Linked DNA regions of Homo sapiens: all the other regions are linked to region 3. The links are contacts of gene promoters, found by promoter capture Hi-C in blood cells and fetal thymus (Javierre and others, 2016). All regions are on one chromosome and are shown on one strand. The core of a region is centred on a gene start or on the middle of the fragment in contact, and the rest is flanking DNA. Distances in the headings are between cores, read along the strand shown.

Region 1 (3,211 bases), core at 673-3,172, 5.3 Mb after region 3:
CCCGATCCTCCCTCGATCAGGTTCCCCAGCTCGCATAAGACTTTGCCTGCCAGACCTCGAAAGTCATAAACCCGGGGGATGAAGTGGGAAGACTGTCCAAGGAGCAATGGAGGGAACCTAGTTGTTCTTGTTTTTCCTGTTTTTCACTGAGTTCTTTTATGCCTTTAGTCCTGAGGCGCAAACAGCTGTTGTAGGGCTGCCTAAAGGTCCGAAAGAGACACCCCTCGGCTTGGAAATAACGAGGAATCGTCGTGCACTGAAACGTGAGGAGAGACTGCAGGGACCCCTGGAGCTGGAGCTTTCGGGAGTAACGAAGCTGCAGCTCCTCGAAAATAGGATGGGTTCCCCAAAATAAGAGCTCTTAGGGATCTGAGGCTTGTATTCCCTTGAGTATCTAGGAACTGGGATTGCAGTTTGTGCTTGCCCCCACCTCCCAAGAGAGGACGAGAGCGAGTGAGTCTCTATGCCTGGGCTCCTAAGGAAACTCTCTGGCAGAGCCAGAGGAGCCCCAGACATCCCCACCCCCCCGTCCTCACTCCCTCTCTCCCCCCCACCAGAGCAGGAGGAAGAGGCCGATTGCGTTCCCCAGAGCCACCCAATTGGTCGCCATAACTCACACAATAAAGTGGCAGCGCGGCGGTCAGTCTTGCCCTCCGGCGGCGCCTGTGTGGTCTCAGTGCAGGAGCCCGCGATCTAACCAATTCCAGCTTGGCTCGGAGACCGAGGGTCCTGCTGCAGGCTGAGACTGGCGCCGGTCACCGGGTCTCCCAGGGTCTTGGGATCAGAGGCAGGAGGGGAGGACCCCTAGTCCTCTGGCCGGACTAGGCAAGAGGGCCAGCGACGGGGTCTGAGCACACCGCTCCCGGCTAAGAACTGCTGCCTTTCCCACTTCCCTGTTTGTCAGACCCGTGAACTCCCTATCCCCGGCACCCCTGGGGGCGCTGAGGCAAGGAACTCTGCTAGCCAGCTGCCTCCGAACGCCCGCTGTTCCCCGGCCAGGTGGTTCTGGCTCTTCTGCCTTTCCACACCCAGTCGGGGGAGTTCGTCCTGCTTTGCCCTCCACTTGGTGGATGGGGACACCTCGGAGTTCTGGTTTGCAGTGTGTAGTCCTGGAGAGGACTCCTGAAGATAAAAGGAATGTAGCCTTTGGCCACGATTGGTGGATCGAGCTGATGGGTTCCCTGGCGGACATTCTCCATGGACCTGTATGGCAATTTCCCTATGATCAGAGTTCTTAGCCATGGGGACACAAACCAGAAATAGTGTGGCCTCCTTCCTGGATCCCAAAATTGGGTAGTTTGTGATGCCCTTTTTGTGTCTGCGGCCTGGGACTGAGGGCTCAAGTAGCGAATGGGTCTTTGCTGCCAGATCCTCAGGCAGAGGTCTCTGGAGAAACCCTCTCTGTGGGAGTGATTGGGGTAAAAGTGACATTGCTCAGGCCAAGGGACAGAGCTCCTGGTGCCGCCGGACCGCGCCCTCTCCGGATAAGTCGAGAGGCGCCGGTTAATGGAAAATGCCTCCGCTGCAACTTAAAGCCGGTAGAAGCAAGCCGGGCCCAGAAAGCCTGCGGAAAACGAATCGCAAAGCCAATCACGACCAAGAAGAGTCCCAGGGGACACTTGGGCAGAGTCACCCTCTTGCCCGATGTCCCCAGCTGCTGAAGCCGGGCCTGGAAACCCGCAGACAGTTAGTCTTCGCTCAACCTGATTTGGCTCTGCTGGCAGCCTCGTCCTTCGCCATCGAACATTGCGGGTGTTATCATAATACTCTGAAGGGGGGGAAAACGGGTCGGGGGGATGTAGGCGGTGCTGAAATGACCGGCTTTGAAGAACCTGCAGGCAAAGTTTCGTCCAATCGTCTGAGCCTGTCCTCTTATTCCCGGTTGTAACTAAATACTGTTGCGAGCGCAGCCGAAGCCCTTTGTTGGAGATGTGTGAGCGCAGTCTCTACAGAGCGGGCTATGTGGGCTCGCTTCTGAATCTGCAGTCGCCAGACTCTTTCTACTTCTCCAACCTGAGGCCGAATGGCGGCCAGTTGGCCGCGCTTCCCCCTATCTCCTACCCGCGCGGCGCGCTGCCCTGGGCCGCCACGCCCGCCTCCTGCGCCCCCGCGCAGCCTGCGGGCGCCACTGCCTTCGGCGGCTTCTCGCAGCCCTACCTGGCTGGCTCCGGGCCTCTCGGCCTGCAGCCCCCAACAGCCAAAGACGGACCCGAAGAGCAGGCTAAGTTCTATGCGCCCGAAGCGGCCGCTGGGCCAGAGGAGCGCGGTCGTACCCGGCCGTCCTTCGCCCCCGAGTCTAGCCTGGCTCCTGCAGTGGCTGCTCTCAAAGCGGCCAAGTATGACTACGCTGGTGTGGGTCGTGCCACGCCGGGCTCCACGACCCTGCTCCAGGGGGCTCCCTGCGCCCCTGGCTTCAAGGACGACACCAAGGGCCCGCTCAACTTGAACATGACAGTGCAGGCGGCGGGCGTTGCCTCTTGCCTGCGACCTTCACTGCCCGACGGTAAACGGTGCCCATGCTCCCCGGGCCGGTTTGGGCCGGGATGGGAGGTGGGGTTCAAGGGAGAGTGTAAGGGGAGGTGAACCGCCTGGGGGCGGGCAATAGACAGAGTACGGGCTGGGTTGACGTGGGTTGGGGCTGTGTTGCAGGCCTGCCGTGGGGGGCGGCCCCGGGGAGGGCCCGCAAGAAGCGGAAACCCTACACGAAGCAGCAGATTGCGGAGTTGGAGAACGAATTCCTCGTCAACGAATTCATCAACAGGCAGAAACGCAAGGAATTGTCCAATAGGCTGAACCTCAGCGACCAGCAAGTCAAAATCTGGTTCCAGAACAGGCGTATGAAGAAGAAGCGCGTGGTGCTTCGGGAGCAGGCGCTGGCGCTCTACTAGCCGCGCGCGTGGCCAGGGCCGGGTTGGATCTGCCCTTTTGGACAGAGGCCTTGTTTGGGGAGGGGGATCTGGGGCTAAGGCTAAGGCTTTTCCTTCGGTTCCTTCTCTGCTGGCCCCAGAAGCCACCAAGAGATTTACAGACCAGGCCAGTTGGGCCTCCTTGCTTTCCTCAGTCCCTGAGAAGCCCGTGAGAAACGTGCGGAAGTACCAGTGCAACTCTGGCTGGCCTTAAGGCTTCCACGTTGGGGGACTGAGGCCAACTCTCCTTGCTCCTGGCTGGGGCATTTGCACCCACCGCTCATTCTTGCTCCCCGGTACCTGGA
Region 2 (3,634 bases), core at 606-3,105, 5.3 Mb after region 3:
TGTGTGCCTACCCGTCCCCCCGCCCGAGTCCCCTAGTGGGCGAACGCTGGGCCGGGCACGGTATCTCCCTGGCGAGCACAGCCTGAACCCAAGGCTGGTTTTGAGGTGGCAGTTAATTACTAGCCCGGAAAGCCGAAGCCCCGGAGCCGATGTCTGGGCTGACAGGGTTCCCTCCTCAGCCTCGGGGCAGTCAGACGATTCCTAACAACTTCTCCCAAGGAGGTAGATCCCTGTTTATCAACCAGCACACCCCGTCGGCCCTTTTCTTTGGTAAACACTCTTTAAACAAACAGCCCATCCGCCCTGTTATTGCCAAAGCTGCTCAGAGCTTTAATAAAAGCCCAGGGAAGATCAGAACCCGCGTCCAAGGCTGCTGCTTAATCCAATGAAGGCAATTTCCGAGGATAATTGCGAACATGTTTTAATGCATATGCATGAAAAAGGATTTTTTTTCTGAGAGACCAACTTTACATGCTTATGTAATTGATTGAGGCGCTGACCCGCTATTCAAAATGTTATTTGAGAACCATCACAATGCGTAAACTTGCAAATTGCCCAGCTTGTATCTGAATTAATACCTCATTCATCATCATTATGGGTTGATAAGTTAATTTAACCATTTCATTCTGCCTTAATGAGCTATAGTTAAATTAATGCCACATAATATATGAAAGTAACATTTAAATAGAAGCACTGGGCTGAGACAAGCCGAGGCTGCTGCTATTTGGGCTGAAATAAGGTGACATAAATCTTTTCTTCATTACAGGACCCAGTCTGCTCTACCAGCAGTTATGAAGTATTTATTCATTCACTTTCTTTTGCGAAGTTGCTTTGCCAAATAGCATAGGTAAATTATGTGAGCTTGTAAATAATGCCTGAGGATGTATTTATTAAAATAAGATTGGGGTGGAGGTGGGAGAATCTATAAAAAGCATTTTCACAGCATGCTTTCCCATCGCTCCAGGAAAACCAAGACCCCCACTGCCAGCCCTCCCCAACTTGGCTGGGAATACCACAGGGTCTGGAGGTCACTGGTTTTACTCCAAAGTGCCTGCTCTGAGTTCAAACCTCAGAAACACCAGCCTGCCCCTTTTCTCGTTTGCAGACTGGACTATCCTCCCAACCCACCCCCGCCACCACCCCTCCTCCCCTGGGTTTCCGTCACAGGCAGAGACACCTTGATTCTGGTTTTCCTAAGTCAGGGATGATGAGCTTAGTTGTGGATACTTTGCAAATTGGTGTAAAGGAAGCTGGAAGAGAGGGTGACCCTTCCCACCTCAGAAGTGGTTCAGGAAGCTTCCATGAGATTCTTTGGACCCAGACCTTAGGTCAGAGAAGCTGAGGTGAGAGTGGCTCCAAAGAAAGAGAAGGGATCAGGCCAAAAGGTCACTGAAGAAAGGGGAGGTGCCCCCAGGAGCCATAACCCCCTACATTTCTCCCTCTCTACTCCCAAGCCAGTCTTTTATTGGGATAAGTTATTTAAACTCAAGGGGAGTCTCTCCATCTGAGAGGGGGTGAGACAGGGCAGGCTTCGTGGGTGGGGATCTTTGTAGTCACACAGGGTGATGGGCTTAAAAGCCACCCCCCAGCTTGATTTGATGTTCTGTTGTTGCCCTCTTGAAATTCCTAATAACTTTTGAACAAGGGGCCCACATGTTCATTTTGCACTGGGACCAAAAATTGTGCAGCCAGTCCTAGGTGGAAAAAGAGGAAAGGAAAAGAGACTGACTTCTCATGACCACTGCAGGGCTCTATGTCCCCTTCTTTGGTTCCTTATGAGAGGAAACTCAGAATGCTACTTGAAAGTAGATCCCCACTTCTGATCAAATCATGGCTCATAACATTAACAGACAAATTATAGCGTGAGCCCTACGCTGCTCTCCAGGGTCTCCAGGTGTAGGCCTTTGATGACTGGGGTTTGGGAGAGCTGCCAATAAAGGTTCAGCCTAAAACCAAAATGCACTCCAGCTTCTGACCTGATCGGCCTAGGAAAAACGCTCAGGGCCTTGGCAAAGGAAAAGGTCACTTTCCTTCCTCAGAAAGCCCAGGAAAGGGACTCAAGTTTTAGCGGGAGGGAGAGTTATAAGTCTTCCTTTAGCGGATTCAGGATGGGTAGGATTGAAAGGACACCTTTCCTGGAATCCATAGCAGACTGAAGAATTTTGAGTTTGGAGCTGTGTGTAAGTAAGTAGATTTTTACAAAGGTAAATTTCTTTGCTTGTTCTTTTTGCACCTAAAAATCCAGGACACCGGAGCATTATGGGAAGAAAAAGAAATACAATTTATGGAAGAGAAGTAACAAGAGGAAAACCCTTACCATATATTTAGTCTTCATAACTTATTTAATTGCAGAGGGTAGCGATTGTTTCATCAAATGTTTCATATTTCTGAGTTTGGAGGGCGGGGATGCCAGGGTAAGCTTCCTCCGAGCGACTAAGGAGCAGCAACAAGCTCTGGAATTTCCTCTCGGGGTGGTCCGTTCCACCTTAAATAACTTGGGCTTTTTGGTCCCAAACGCGCCCTGTAGTTCAGGTTTTTTTGTCCTCCCTGCAGCAGCTGTCACCCTGCATTACTCGCAGTCAGCTAAATGAAACATTATTCTAAACATATGCATCGTAATCAGTTCGGTCACACTTACAAGAACACGCGTTAATAAGGCAATCAATCACCCTGGAACAAGCAAGTTGTTCTGTAACAGCTCATAAACAGTGTGTAATGAAGAATTGGAGGTTACCGTGACATGCGTTGATCAGATAATCAATGTCAAAGATGCGATGAATGTCAGTAAATGTAGTTTTCATGTCGTTTCTATAAAATCTTCAATTTACAACAAGCAGTTCAATTACCCAGAAAATACAGTCAATTAAATAGGGGTGATTGGACAGTAGGGGGGTGGATCATCGATCTTTGCATTTCTATCTCGCTAGTGGACATTTAATTTGGTTTTTCCATTAGCGACGAAATAAAGAAAATATAAAATATATTAAACAACCTACAGATTTATTTTCTTGTCAAAAACAATTCGGGCTTGATGACAGACAGTCTTCTGCATTTTATGATGAATTATTTTTTCATTCTTTGCACACTCGAGACAAAAAAAATGCTGTTATTTTGGACAGGGTTTTTTGGCCACTGTCTTTTTCCGTTTGCTGGCCCATCTATCTCAATGCTTTTGTTTTTAAGGGTTACAACCCCCGAGTTAGCAAAGAGCACCGAAAACCAGGGTGATACATCACCAGTCCAAATGTGCTGCTATAATCGTATTTCTTTAATGGGGGAGTTCAAGAAAAGAGAGAAGGGGAAAGAGAGAAAAGAATTTATCGAGGGGGAGGGAACCCTTGGGATTACTTCAGTATATATTTAACCAACCTGCAATTAAAGACGGTATCAGCTTGTATCATTTAGAGCTAATGCAATAATAATGGTAAATTACAGGCCAAAATGGCTTGTGATCGCAGCCTCTGTATTCCCAGTAGTGTCCTCATCGTTGTAATTAATGCCAGGGTGAGCAGTTGGAAAAAGAAAATTTCGAGGAAGGGACATCTTGGTTTTTAAATCGAATAGACTGCTTTGCACACACCATTGACTCTTGCATTTTGCCATCGAAATATCGATTTTAAGACAGATCTGTAAA
Region 3 (3,581 bases), core at 255-2,754:
CAAAGGCAACGCGATTATTTCAAACCCCACAGCGAGATCCCTCTTGCTGATCAGGCCATGTCTGCCCAGGGCGGACCCTTCGATCTCCCTTATGGAACTCTCGGTAATTTATAATATTTTTGTGTGTGTTTCCATTGTGTTGTGGTGAAAGGCGATAAGGCATTCAAAGAAAACGGACGGGCCTCCGCTGAACCAGTGAGGCCCCAGACGTGCGCATAAATAACCCCTGCGTGCTGCACCACCTGGGGAGAGGGGGAGGACCACGGTAAATACCAGTAAAGGAATCACTGCCTACACGGTGTCACCCAGACACGCACAGACATCAACATTTTTGCCCTAAAGAAAAAAACTGGGGGAGAAGAAAGGGGAGAACTTAAACTAGTGACAGGGCGGTGAGGGAAGGCATGAAGAGGCAAGCCGGCGCGTAACCGTCTGGCCAGCAGCTCCAGGTGTGGGCTCCGCTCGGGCGCTGGCGGAGAGACCCGGGAGCGCAGGGCCTCTCCGTCTCTGGGCTCTTGGCGCCCTCTGGTGGGAATTTCTCTTTCAACGCATTTTTACGGCGAGGGGCTTCTCCCAACGCAGCGGTTCTTTTAACTACGCCTAAATATTGCAAAGGGAGAATCCTTAAAGCGCGTGAAATCGAAGGGGGAGCGGGCCAGGGCAAGGGGGGCTGGTCCGCCCCTTCCGGGCACCTCTGTGCTCGGGTGCCCCATGCGCGTGCAGCGGCGCTCGTGCGTGTCATCAACCTTCAAACGTGATTAATCAGGAGGCCTTCTTTTCCCATCACCAAGGGGGCCAAAGCGAGGAGCGAGCGCATAGCAAAAGGGACGCGGGGTCCTTTTCTCTGCCGGTGGCACTGGGTAGCTGTGGCCAGGTGTGGTACTTTGATGGGGCCCAGGGCTGGATGAGGAAACTGTAATTCCTCCATGGTCTAAGAGGTCTCCCCTCATTTCTGCCTCCTTTGCGGTTACAACAATCCCAGCTCCGTAGAGAGCCAACGAGGACACGACCCAAAGCGCGCTTTCGCTCAAGGAAGCGTCGCAGGGTCACAGATCTGGGGGAACCCCGGGGAAAAGCACTGAGGCAAAACCGCCGCTCGTCTCCTACAATATATGGGAGGGGGAGGGGAAATGGGAGAGGGGAAAGGAGGGGAGGGAAGAAGAAACGCTCAGAAAGGCAGAATTCTTCGTAGGAATTATCTTTTCCCTCCTCTCACCCGACAGCCTGCCTATTTCCAAAGGAAAAAAAAAAAGCGTGTTGAGTACGTTCTGGATTACTCATAAGACCTTTTTTTTTTCCTTCCGGGCGCAAAACCGTGAGCTGGATTTATAATCGCCCTATAAAGCTCCAGAGGCGGTCAGGCACCTGCAGAGGAGCCCCGCCGCTCCGCCGACTAGCTGCCCCCGCGAGCAACGGCCTCGTGATTTCCCCGCCGATCCGGTCCCCGCCTCCCCACTCTGCCCCCGCCTACCCCGGAGCCGTGCAGCCGCCTCTCCGAATCTCTCTCTTCTCCTGGCGCTCGCGTGCGAGAGGGAACTAGCGAGAACGAGGAAGCAGCTGGAGGTGACGCCGGGCAGATTACGCCTGTCAGGGCCGAGCCGAGCGGATCGCTGGGCGCTGTGCAGAGGAAAGGCGGGAGTGCCCGGCTCGCTGTCGCAGAGCCGAGGTGGGTAAGCTAGCGACCACCTGGACTTCCCAGCGCCCAACCGTGGCTTTTCAGCCAGGTCCTCTCCTCCCGCGGCTTCTCAACCAACCCCATCCCAGCGCCGGCCACCCAACCTCCCGAAATGAGTGCTTCCTGCCCGCCCTAGTCCCTGCTCTCCACGGGTGCGCTGCGCAGGGACCCCCCCCCCCCCGCCTCCCTCGTCACTCTTCTTATCCCTGCCCTCCGGATTCACGCCCCGGGGAAGCACGGAGGCTGAGGCTCTAGTTGAAGTGGGGCAAGAGCGATTTTCCCTTGAGCTTCCATGCTGCGAGCGCCTGTCCCTCCAAAGGGCGCCTGGGCAGCAGCAGCCGAAGGCGCTACTAGGAACGGTAACCTGTTACTTTTCCAGGGGCCGTAGTCGACCCGCTGCCCGAGTTGCTGTGCGACTGCGCGCGCGGGGCTAGGAGTGAGGTCGGAGGGAGGGTGTGGAGGCGATGGCCGGTGGGCCCTTCTCTGTGGGGTCCTCGATCTACCCAGATTAGCCCGCAATCTCTCTGTCCCGGGGCCTTCGGGCGCCATCGCGCCAGCGCCGAGAGTCGAGCAGGGGCGCCGCGCAAGATCTTTGTCCGCCGCCTCCTGCGCGCTGCGCGCAAGTTCGTTTCCCCGGTGACGTTCCCCATGCTTACTTACCCCACCCTCTCTGGATCTGTACCGCGAGAAATCTGGGGTCCTCAGGGGGCTAGGTAGAGGAGAAACGCTGAAACCGGACCGAAACCTCGCCCTAGGCTTAGCGATGGCTAAAAACCGGCTGGGATAAGAGGGAGGCAAGCAACATTCCGACTCGCTGCTTTCTGGCTGTCTGGAGTGCAAGGTGACTGTGGTTCTTCTCTGGCCAAGTCCGAGGGAGAACGTAAAGATATGGGCCTTTTTCCCCCTCTCACCTTGTCTCACCAAAGTCCCTAGTCCCCGGAGCAGTTAGCCTCTTTCTTTCCAGGGAATTAGCCAGACACAACAACGGGAACCAGACACCGAACCAGACATGCCCGCCCCGTGCGCCCTCCCCCCGCTGGCCCACACGCCGGCTGCTGAGTGCCCAATGGGGCTTGTAGCGGCTCGGCTGGAAAATCGCTCACTGAGCGCTCCCCTGTGCTCCTAGCCTAGTCCCCCACACCCTTGCGTCTTGTACTGGCCTTGGACCCCCACCCCGACCCCGACCCCGCCTCGTCTCGGCGCTTCACTCCAGGTCGCGCCGATGCACCGCCAGACTCGAGAGCGGCCCAGGGCTACGCTCCCTGCGCCCCAGTACCGGAGCTAGCGCGCACGTCTCCTCCGCTGCCCCCACCCCTGCGCACCCCTACCAGGCAGGCTCGCTGCCTTTCCTCCCTCTTGTCTCTCCAGAGCCGGATCTTCAAGGGGAGCCTCCGTGCCCCCGGCTGCTCAGTCCCTCCGGTGTGCAGGACCCCGGAAGTCCTCCCCGCACAGCTCTCGCTTCTCTTTGCAGCCTGTTTCTGCGCCGGACCAGTCGAGGACTCTGGACAGTAGAGGCCCCGGGACGACCGAGCTGATGGCGTCTTCGACCCCATCTTCGTCCGCAACCTCCTCGAACGCGGGAGCGGACCCCAATACCACTAACCTGCGCCCCACAAGTAGGTCCCGCCCCAATTTTCTATCAAATGAACTGCAGGGAAGATGGGGGCGCTGGGACGTCGGGAGGCTGAGCTGGCGGAAAGGGAAGGGGGAGCGCGGAGATAATGGAGGCTGGGAAATAAATGGGGCTCTGACCCCGTCCCTGCCAGAGGTCATTCGGCTGTCAGGGACGCTAGGTGACTCCCAGGGCACCGGAAAGCGAGGACCACGCAAGGTCCGAGCAGCGGCGATCGTTGAGGGCTTCGCGGAGGAGGAGGGGCGCGCAGCCAGGGTGTTGTTTTTATTCTGT

What was found. The method cuts DNA at HindIII sites, captures the fragments that hold promoters and counts their contacts. A CHiCAGO score of 5 or more calls a contact.
Region 1: the fragment with the promoter of HOXD12 here is called in contact with the fragment with the promoter of GAD1 in region 3 in 2 of 17 cell types (total B cells and naive B cells); the score reaches 17.6 in total B cells.
Region 2: a fragment that was not itself captured here is called in contact with the fragment with the promoter of GAD1 in region 3 in 1 of 17 cell types (total B cells); the score reaches 8.7 in total B cells.

The regions. Positions count from the first base shown.
Region 1 is chr2:176,097,873-176,101,083 of GRCh38, forward strand. HOXD12 (homeobox D12) reads left to right here and starts at 1,923. Exons shown (of 2, transcript NM_021193.4): 1 at 1,923-2,503; 2 at 2,650-3,211. The coding sequence starts at 1,930. The coding sequence ends at 2,888. RefSeq lists enhancers at 1-236, 1,778-2,510. The HindIII fragment of the contact is 6,365 bases long and covers 1-3,211 here.
Region 2 is chr2:176,073,096-176,076,729 of GRCh38, forward strand. No RefSeq gene overlaps it. Among named protein-coding and RNA genes, the nearest start is that of EVX2, 9.0 kb to the right of the region's middle. RefSeq lists enhancers at 1-75, 2,247-3,587. The HindIII fragment of the contact is 1,123 bases long and covers 1,295-2,417 here.
Region 3 is chr2:170,815,383-170,818,963 of GRCh38, forward strand. GAD1 (glutamate decarboxylase 1) reads left to right here and starts at 1,505. Exons shown (of 17, transcript NM_000817.3): 1 at 1,505-1,666; 2 at 3,147-3,291. The coding sequence starts at 3,210. It overlaps GAD1-AS1 (GAD1 antisense RNA 1), which reads right to left and starts at 3,269. Exons shown (of 4, transcript NR_197761.1): 1 at 3,004-3,269; 2 at 2,336-2,533; 3 at 1,472-1,650; 4 at 1-1,103. RefSeq lists a silencer at 1,320-1,399 and enhancers at 1,487-1,656, 2,896-3,419, 3,420-3,581. The HindIII fragment of the contact is 11,655 bases long and covers 1-3,581 here.